2 separate regions of the Homo sapiens genome follow, and region 1 is linked to region 2. Evidence: promoter capture Hi-C in 16 types of primary human blood cells and fetal thymus (Javierre and others, 2016). All regions are on one chromosome and are shown on one strand. Each heading gives the region's core, a stretch centred on a gene start or on the middle of the fragment in contact. The rest is flanking DNA. Distances are from core to core; before and after follow the strand shown.

Region 1 (4,872 bases), core at 595-3,094, 130 kb before region 2:
TGAACCCATGTTGACATATTGTTATTGCCCAAGTCCATAGTTTATGTTAGAGTTCACTCTTGGTGTTGCACATTCTAAGGGTTTGAACAAATGTATAATGGCATGCATCTACCATTACAGCATCATACAGAATAATTTTACTGCCCTAAAAACCCTCTGTTTACTTTATTCATTATTATTATTTTTTGAAACAGGGTCTTGCTCTGTCACCCAGATTGGAGTGCAGTGGCACAAACATGGCTCACTACAGTCTCGACCTCCTGGGCTCAAGCAACCCTCCCACCTCAGCCTCCTGAGTAGCTGGGACTACAGGCATGCACCACCATGCTCAGCTAACTAAAAATTTTTTTTTTGTAGAGACAGGGTCTCCCTGTGTTGCCCAGGCTGGTCTTGAACTCCTGGTCTCAAGTGATCCTCCTGCTTCAGCCTCCAAAATACCTAGGATTATAGGCATGAGCCACTGTGCCCAGCCTGTTTACTTCTTAAGGATCAAATTAATAGACTGTAGCTTACAGTGTTAATGTAAGGATGTAGCATGACTTCTGCTAAAAAAAACCACTTTATTTTGCAAGGCTCTTGGTCTCAGTTCTGCCTCCCCTGCCCTATGCCTGTGTGTCTGAGACTGTCGGGGCAGGGCTCAGGGCCATGACTGGGTGGTCGCCTACACAGGCAGTGGCCAGCATGGCTTTGGAGGCTCACCCTGTTTCCTAGCTCCTCTTTCAGACTCATAGGATGATATCTAACACACCTCAAGGGGCAGGGCTTGGGGGACTGGGCTGTGGGTGGAGGCCAGGCAGGCCAAAAATTCCTCTAGTGGTGCTGCCCCAGACACTGTCTCCCAAACCAAGAGATCTCACCTTGTACCCCAGGGTCAAGCCAAGTTCATAGGCTGGTAATGGTCTCTGTGCCCATGTAGCCGGGCTGTGCTGTGCTGAGTGGGTCACTTGGGCTGGGAGCATCTGTACCCAACACAGCCTGCTGCAGCCGACCACTGTGAGGCAGGCGGGGGTTACTCACGTGAGAGTCCGAATGCACTTGGCTGAGTCCCGGATGTCCCACACCTTGATGTAGGAGGTGGACACGGAGAACACAAGCCCCGAGTGGCTGCAGTACTTGATGGAGACCACGTTGTTGGGGTGGCCCTTTAGAGCTGCGATCTCCTGTCCCGTAACCAAGTTCCACATCTTGCAGCTTCGGTCTGTGAGAGATGGGAGGAAGCCACAGGGAGGGGAGGGATGTCAGCCACTAGGGGGCGCAGCTCCACCTCTGCAGGGGCTGCCCAGGATAGGGGAAAGGGATCCACAGGGCTCCAGAGGACGGAGCTCCAGGTCTGAAGAGGAAAAAAACACATACACATGTGCTCACTGGCATGTGTGTGCTAGTAAAAAACTCAGGGAAGAGAGAATTCCCTCAGAACTTCAGACCAGGGTTCCTCAAGCAAACTTTCCACTAACACCAGAGTTTTGTGAGCCATACTGCTAAGGTGTCCAGGGCTAAAATAAAATTCTTAAGCTTTTATGGTGCCTGTTCCTCCAAACACTAATTGCTGACAAAGCAAATGAACCAGTGCAAGCAAATGTTATGGGAAAACTTGGAATCAATCAATCACACCTAGATTGACAGCTATCCCCCTACTGCCGTGGAGAGCTATATTTATGCTTGTGTTATAGTATGCGTGTCTATTACAGACTAGTTCTTTCTGTCGGTAAAATGAATGAATGAAAGAGTAAATAAAGAATTTTGTATTTGCTTATTGAGATAGGGTCTTGCTCTGTTGCCCAGGCTGGAGTGTAATTGCACAAACACAGCTCACTGCAGCCTTGACCTCCCGGACTCAAACGATCCTCCCACCTCAGCCTCCTGAGTAGCTGGGGCTACAGGCACATGTCATTGTGACTAATTTTTTATTTTTTGTAGAGACAGGATCTCACTATTTGCCCACGCAGGTAGTCTCAAACTCCTGGGCTTAAGCAATTCTCTTGCCTCATGCTTCCAAAGTGCTGCAATTACAGGTATGAGCCACTGTGCCCAGCCTATCTGCTGGTAAAATGTTTGACTTTGTTGCTGTAATCAGGTGAGCGTGACTTTGTAAAGTGCTGCTGCTGAGATCATAGGGAGTGCCTAGATGTATGAGCTGGGGTGATGTTGGGCAGTGCAAGTACAGGTGGGGCACCCAAGAAGCTTCCTGAAGTTTCCCTGGAAGGTCTGGAAGGAAGTGCTGGATGGAGCCACCAGGTCAGGTATGAGGGAAGGCTTGGCCAAGGATGCATGGGATGGGGGCCTTGAGCCAAGGTAAGAAACAAGGGTAGTAAGCAAATAGACCCCATATCCTCAACTCCTGGGGGCTCTATGTTCTTTTCTCCTTCACAGACCACTCTGACAAAGGAAGCAGGGGTGAGTAGGAGACCCCAACCCTACCTGGCTAGTTGGCGTTCCACATACCTTTGGACCCTGTGAATAGCAACTCATCTGTGGCATCCAGGCAGAGGATGGGCTTGGTGTGGCCTTCGGCCATGGAGACACACTGCAGTGGGGCCGTCCGTGCACCCTTGGCTCCTCCAACCGGGGAGATGATGCCCCTTCCCGGGAGAGAGGGAGAGAAGGCATGCTCGTCAGCCAGGGAGACTGTGGCCAGGCTGATCAAGGCACGTGTGTGGGATGGGGACAGGGCAGGGAGGGGATGAGGACCAAATAACAGAGACTTTAAGGACTCCAGCCAAATTCCACCAAGGTCTGAGAGCCGGGAACGGGCTACACAGAGTGGAGATAGCCTGTCTTAATCAGCAATCATCAGTTGCCATCCTGAGCACTTCTGGGGAAGCAAACCCGGTGTTAGGCACAGCTAGAAGGTGCAGGAGGTGTGGGCTCTGTCCACAGAGAGTTCCTATCTGACAATGTCTGACCCAGATCCTGAGATGTGAATGCGCCCGGGTCCAGCTGGGCAGGGCAGAGGCCCAGGGGCTGGAACTGGGCCCTGTAGCTTCCACCAGAAGCTGCATGCTGCTTCAGTTAACCGAGTGTGAGGGAGGGGTGCTGAGAGGGAGGGTTGCTCAGGCCATCACCCCCATGCACCCTGATCCCAGTAAACCCTTCTGCTGGTAACTGCCTCTGAGGCTAGCATCTTCCAAGCAGAGAGCCATGTGTACACATACACACTCCTTTTGGACCAGCGGGGTCAAACTTGTGACTGGCATTTACGAAGGGCTAAATCCCTTTGGGGCTGGCTTGGCTTTGGGTAGGAGGTTTGGGGCTCTCTGGAATGGGGCTGTATGGACCTGGAACAACACCTCCTCGCTCCCATGATGCTAGGGGAGCGAGAAGGAGGCTGGCCCAAGTGAGCGTGAGGGTTTTGCCACATCCAGCTTCCTGAGGTTCTGAAGATGATTTTTTTCTCAGTGAGGGTCTTTTGGGATGAGACCCTGGCTGAGTCATGTCTGAAAATATATCCTAGCTTTGTTTCTTTTCCCAAGAGAAAGCTGCTCCTGACAGTGACTCTGGCCAAGGGTCTACTGAAATGATCAAGGTTTTGCCTGTGGCGCTTCTGGCACAGCTCCCCCCAGACTCTGCCAGGCCCACCCTTGAGGATGGTGGTCGGATACGTCCAGCTGCCAGCCAGGTGCCACACATGCACAAATAGCTCCCCAAGCTGCTCCAGCACCCTGCTTCTGACAATGGTTTGGCTTCACTGCATGGCCACAGAACTATGTCAAAGGGATCATGCTCCCCCCGATGACAGCCTGGCCAGCTGGCTAACATCTTGTGGTGGCAAAGCCTCATGATTCACAGTAAACCAGTTGTCGACACTCAGGGCTGGAGGCTCGAGGAGCTGAGACAGCCCACCAGGAGAGCCGAGGAAGCTCTCAGCCCACGAGGGGCCCTTGGCTTGTCAGGGGCTCGGGACCCCAGGTCCTGAGTCTTGCTCCTCGTTGTGCGGTGTCATGCTCGGCTGGCTGGGAGAACCAGCCTCCAGCCATCCCACAGGCTGCGGGAAGGGGAGGTACCCACACATCTGTGTGCTAACAGGTGTGGGCAAGGGGCGCTGCCCCCATGGTGCCCCTCCCCCCATGGTGCCCCTCCCAGAGCCAACGTCTGAAAAGCTCACCCCCAGCACAAGCTGAGGGAATCAAAGGACCCAGAGCACACCACCGGCACCCCCAAAAGGAGCAGCCTTCAGCATTTCCCCTGCCTTCCAGTCGTGGAGAACTCAGCCCCAGCCCAGCATCCCCTAGGCCTCCATGCTGCGCCCCTCCCTGCCCAGGTGAGGAGGGAGAAGAGAACAGGGCCTGCGACAAGCAACTGTGCACCCTCCCCAAGCCCCCAGCTCTAGCTGGCGCAGTCCAAGGCCTTGTGGCCACCCTGAGAGAGAGGAACCATGGGGGCAGGAACAGGTCTGGAGAGGGGGGCAGCAGGAAGGGGAGTGGAGGGGCCGCATGCTGAGGACACGGGTGTCAGGCGGGAGGGATGCAGCAAGAGACAGAGAAGAGAGGGTGCCGAGAGTGAGAGTGGGGAACCAAACACGAGAGACATTCTGTGTGTACCTCAGGACCTCCGACAAAGAGGAGTCGCTGTCATCAGACCTGGGGAGGGCAGAAAATTAGCTGGATTAGGGGGTGAGAGGAGACACACACAGAGGGACGCAGAGGCGGCAGCAGTGTGTGGGGTGGTCAGAGGGCAGGTTATTCTCTTCCAGCGGAGCAGAGACAGGCAGAGGAATGAGGGCCTCGGGAGAGCAGGGGAGGAGGTGGGTGGGCTGGTCTGGGAGCTGGGACTCTCCCCCAGGAGTGGGCTGCCAGGGTCTCTCGGCTGGCAAGGGAGGAGCGAGGAGGGGGCCACGGGGAGATGTGGGAGCACCAGCCCCACACATGGGGAGAC
Region 2 (5,097 bases), core at 293-2,792:
CGACTTTCTGGCCCATTAGGCAGCAAGTCTGGAAAGAGCTAGAGAAAGCAAGGGAGGAAGCGAGGGAGTTGTTTGGGGGTGGATGGGGAGGCATATTACGTAGTTGGGCTTGACAGAAAAATCCCATTCTCTTCCCAGTAACCTCCAGTGTTTGAGAAAAGAGGAGGGCCACAGGGGCAGGGCGCAGAGGAGCAGAGGATGGAGGAGAGGGAGAACCCACAGAGTAAACCTGATTGCAGAAGAGAGGCAAGGAGGGAGGGCCTAGGAGGGTTTGATGTGGGCGATATACCGCCTGGCCGAGAGCGGGTCAGGGGAACAGGGCTGACCCTGACCCCAAACTATCTCTACTTGCCCCACGTTTCTCTTGTCCTTCCAGTTATCCCTCATTCTCCTTCCTTCTAGGGAACAGCTGGTAGGAGCCCAGCCTTCCAGAACTCTTCAGAAATATTTCAAATATGCCCCACCCTCGCTCTCAGAACCCACTTGACACAGCCCTCCCCTTCTCTCTGTCACTCCTTCCTCCCTTCCCCAAATAACCCAGATATTTTCATCATTCTCCCCACCAGAGCAAATGCAAACATAGCATGAGTTTCAAAGTCCCTGTCCCCAGGGTGGCACGTCTGAGCTAGAACAACCAGGCTTGTTTGGCCTGTGTCTTGGAGCCACTGAGACCAGGTGTCTTTCAGATCCATTTCTCCCCTTGGCTCTGTCCTCAGCTGGGACCTGCCCCCAGAGGAAGCCTTCCTTCAGCTCACCTCTGTCCACTGTCACCCCCCACCCAACCCAAACAAGGGAGAGTTTTCTCAAAGAGGCCATCGCATCTTTTTTTGGTCCCTATCCTATTCTAAAATGAGGCTGGTGCTTCAAAAACCTAGTGGCACCCCATGATAATGTGGATTTGGGCACACATGGGAACAGTCCCCATGAAACAGGCCCCACCCATAGGTGGTCAGTAGGCATCTCTGGTTGTCATCCAGGACTTGGGTGGCCCACTCAGGCCCAGGAAGCCCCACCAAGTCCTCCTTCTCTTCCTCTTCCTCCTCCTCCTCTTCCTCCTCCTCCCCCACCCTCCTCCTCTTCCTCCTCCTCCCCCACCCTCCTCGTCTTCCTCCTCTTCCTCCTCCTCCTCTCCTGCTTAGCCGAGGGCTCCTTCCCCCAGCTCCTCACTCAATTCTGTGAGTTCACCCCATGTCTAAGTGCCAGGCCTCCCTGGCCCTCCTGTAGGAAGTTTGTGCTCTGTGATCACCCCGAATCCCTCCCTCATGACGCACACCCCCCCCCACGGCCCGGGCCCTGAAGGATACTTCCATTCTACAATGCTGATGCAGGCCTTCCTCAGGGGGTTCTCCAGGGTCAGGCAGAACAAGGCCCGGGGTGGCCTTGGCAGAATCTCAGGAACTGGCTTCTTGGGCTGTTTCTTCCTCAGGCCTTCATCCTGGGGTGAGGATGGCTCCATGGCTTCCCTGGGAATCTGGCTTTCTCCTGCTCCCCCACCCCAGTGCTTTCCCTTCCCTGTGTCCCCAATGCCCCCGCCTTGGGGACTAGGCTGGCTGAGGCTGTCGGCTGAGCCTGCCCTGCTGAGCCAGCCAGGGGGCGGGGGCAGGAGTGGGGGCAGGAGGATTACTCTCCTCGCTCCCAGCAAGTAAAATTAGCCTCCACTCGGCTCCCCGCTGCCGGGCCTGAGCTTCTGAGGCCAGGCAGCTGTCATTCCACCCAGCCCAGCCAGTGACTTCCCAATCTGTCCCCTGAGGAGGGTGGGGTGGGTCGGGGGAAGAACTTACACACAGGCCTGGGATGGGGCAGGGGCAGTGGGAGAGGGAGACAGGATGGAAGGTTTCAAGCCTGGGGCAACAGAGGTCAGGAATAGGTAGCCTTGGATATGGAACCTCAAACTGCAGAGTGGCCCCCTCATGCCAAAATTAGGCTTACCCCTCCTCAGCCCCATGACATTGTCTGGAGAAGGCACTGGGCAGCCTAAGTCAGGACAGCTCCACAGCAGCCCCTACCCATCTCAGTATCTGCACCATCAGCCAAAACTCCCCAAGCATACCCTCAACCCACCCCCACAAGCAATCCCATGTCAGAGAAACAGTAAACCCCTCTCCAGTGGGCTAGAAGGCTCCCAGAACAACCCTGAGTGTGCACACCTCTGGCATAGCACCTGCCTCACTGTGGAGCATCTGCTGTGTATCTTTCTTCCCCATCTCCTCCCATCCCTACAGGTGTAAAGGTTGTGTGCATTATCTCTGGGACTCTGGCCCCTTCTCTGCACAGTCCCCCTATGTACTATGCTCCCTGTAAATGTTCACTGAGGCCAGGCATGGTGGCTCACGCCTGTAATCCCAACACTTTGGGAGGCTGAGGTGGGAGAATGGCTTGAGCTCAGGACTTCAAGACCAGTCGGGGCAACGTAGTGAAACTCTGTCTCTACAAAAAATACAAAAATTAGCAGGGTATGGTGGTGTGTGTTTGTAGTCCCAGCTACTAGGGGGGCCAAGGTGGGAGGATCAGTTGAGCCTGGGAGGTTGAGGCTGCAATGAGCCAAGATCTGGCCACTGCACTCCAGCCTGGATGACAGAGTGAGACAGAGTGAGACCTTGTCTCAAAAAGAAAAGTTCATTGAGGATAGCCACGGTAATCCCAGCACTTTGGGAAACCAAGGTAGGTAGATAACTTGAGGTGAGGAATTCGAGACCAGCATGGCCAACATGGTGAAACCCGCATTCTACTAAAAATACCAAAGATTAGCGGGCGTGGTGGTGTGCACCTATAATCCCAGCTACTCTGGAGGCTGAGGCAGGAGAATTGCTCAAACCCAGGAGAAGGAGGTTGCAGTGAGCAGGGATTGAATCACTGCACTCCAGTCTGGGCAACAGAGCAAAACCTGTCTCAAAAAAAAAAAAAAAAAAAAAAAAATTCATTGAACGCCTGAGCTAACAACACTGAATCTTAAATGTGCTGAGCTAACAGCGAACCCCACATATCCTCCCAGCAAGTACTCTGGGCTGGGAGTGAGAATAAGAAAGGGGCACCAGGAAGGGTGAGGGTAGACAATGATCTAGGAATGAGAAAATTCAACAATCCTTTTATTTAGCTCTTTGGTGCCGACGCAGTGCCTATGTACCTATATGCACGCCCCCCTCCCCCAAGGCTTACAGTCTGAGGGAAAAAAACCACAGTCCCCACCCAACCTGGGACAAAACTAGACGACCTCATGGGGGGGATGCGGGGAGGGAGTAACCCCCCCTCCCAACCCAGGAAGCCAGAGAACGCCACCGGGGCACACAGGTCGCCTCTGCTGAGTCTGTAGGTTCGGTCTGGGCTGAGCGCCAGCAGCAATCTGGCCTCCCATCCCTTCCTCTGGGTTCCTTTCTCGAGGAGTAAGCGTGCTCCCAAAGAAGTCGCTAGTATCTGAGGCCATCTGGTGGAGAGCAGTGGCATGGTAACCGAGGGCTCAAAGTCGGGCTCGCATCCCGGGGACTCGCAGAGACTGGACTGCGCCTGCGGCAAGGAAGGACGGAGCAGAGCCACCTGAGGCCGAGCGGGAGCCAGACCCAGGGATGACCGTCCTGGGGAGCCCCTCTGCACCCCGGAGGGGACGCAGGACGCCCGGAGCAGTCCCAGGCCCTGCCCCTCGCTTCACCCACGGAGCTCCTAGGTCTCTATCGTGCCCATCGTACCCGCTGCCCTGCACTTCCGCCCCAAGCTGGTGGAGGAGGGAGGGTGTCGCAGACACGGGAGCGCCGCGGACCTCCTACAGTCACCGTCCTGCGGCGCATCGCGGGTGACCCAACAGCCTCCCGCTGCTCCCGAAAGTGGGACGGGGCCGGCGGATCATCCTCCAAGCCGGGGGCGGCCACAGGCCCGATCAATGCCAGGATTCCTCCGACTCCAAGAAAGGCGACGGGGAGAAGCAGGAGGACTCGGATGACTCCGGCACCAGGGAGGAGGGCGCCCGGGCCTCGCCGTCGCCAGGGCGGTCGGGACGGGGGGTGGCGGGCGGCGCGGGGCAGGGCCCGGTGCCCGGGAGGCCGCGGGAAGCGGGGGGCGTCGAGCCGTCGGGGGCCGAGCTCAGCAGCTCTTGCAGGTACTTTATGTAGCGGATGGCGGCGCGCAGCGTCTCCACCTTGCTGAGTCGCTTCTCAGCCAGGGCGCCGGGGAGGTGGCCGCGGAGGCGAGCGTAGCCCTCGTTGACGCACTTGACTCGCTGCCTCTCGCGCTCGTTGCGCTTCTGGATGAAGGCTGGCTCGAAGGGGTATTCGTAGACCCCGAAGGCGCCGGGGAAGGGCACGTAGGGGAACACCCCCGCATAGGCGTCGTAGTAGGGCGGCTCTGCTGGGCCCGGGTACAGCAGGAAGGGCACGTTGCCCAGGGGCTCGGCGGGGGGCAGGGGCGCCTGCCGGGGAGGGGGCATGACGCCCAGCTGCATGCAGCTGGGGGGCCCCAGAGGCCTCCGGTCCACCAGAGCCCGGCAGAAGTTATTGTTCATGGTGCCGCGTGGAGCTGGACCCAGAGCGAGGCCTCCACCGAATGGCCCCGGCTTGGGGTCTGCACCGTCTCCACCAGTGGGGCAAGTCACATCGCTAGCAGCAGCTCTTGGGTACCAGGACTTGCTAGGGCCTCTTTTCGCCCTTTAGGGTGGCTTCCAATGACTCCCTAACAAGAGCCATCGCCCTAGACAAGTGTGGCCCCTCTCAGGAGGTCGGTGCACGCCTTCTCAGAGCCAGCCCATGGCGCCGCGGAACTCTGAGGGCCCGCACCCCGTTCCGCAGCACCCATGGGCATGGCCACAGACCCGCCCACCCTGCCTCTTGCTGCCACCCAACATGGGCACCTCAGGCCTAAACCACGGGCTCCATGTCCTCCACACCCACCCCAGCGCCTGGTCCTTGGTCCTCGCGGCCTTCGGGATCCCCGGGCTGTCCGGGGTCCCCAAACTGATGGCTGCTGTTAGGAGTGCGCCAGCTCAGTGGAGGGAGTCCCCGGGAACATTTCTAAAGAAGAGGAGAGGAGAGTGAACATATCAGTTAGGAAAGACCTGTATTATGGGCTTCTTTGTATCATCCCCACCCGCAAACGGGATTGTAAGCCTCATGA

The links. Contacts are between HindIII fragments. The CHiCAGO score rates a contact against its expected background, and 5 or more counts as called.
Region 1: a contact is called between a fragment that was not itself captured here and the fragment with the promoter of CACNA1S in region 2, in 11 of 17 cell types (naive B cells, megakaryocytes, naive CD4 T cells and 8 more). The highest score is 8.9, in naive B cells.

The regions. Positions count from the first base shown.
Region 1 is chr1:200,978,518-200,983,389 of GRCh38, forward strand. It overlaps KIF21B (kinesin family member 21B), which reads right to left. Exons shown (of 35, transcript NM_001252102.2): 28 at 4,539-4,577; 29 at 2,443-2,579; 30 at 1,018-1,198. Among named protein-coding and RNA genes, the nearest start is that of KIF21B, 43 kb to the right of the region's middle. RefSeq lists an enhancer at 1,171-1,320. The HindIII fragment of the contact is 669 bases long and covers 1,511-2,179 here.
Region 2 is chr1:201,110,884-201,115,980 of GRCh38, forward strand. CACNA1S (calcium voltage-gated channel subunit alpha1 S) reads right to left here and starts at 1,543. Exons shown (of 44, transcript NM_000069.3): 1 at 1,305-1,543. The coding sequence starts at 1,456. It overlaps ASCL5 (achaete-scute family bHLH transcription factor 5), which reads right to left. Exons shown (of 2, transcript NM_001270601.2): 2 at 3,060-4,994. The coding sequence starts at 4,489. The coding sequence ends at 3,869. RefSeq lists a silencer at 3,670-3,719 and an enhancer at 4,370-4,890. The HindIII fragment of the contact is 9,593 bases long and covers 1-5,097 here.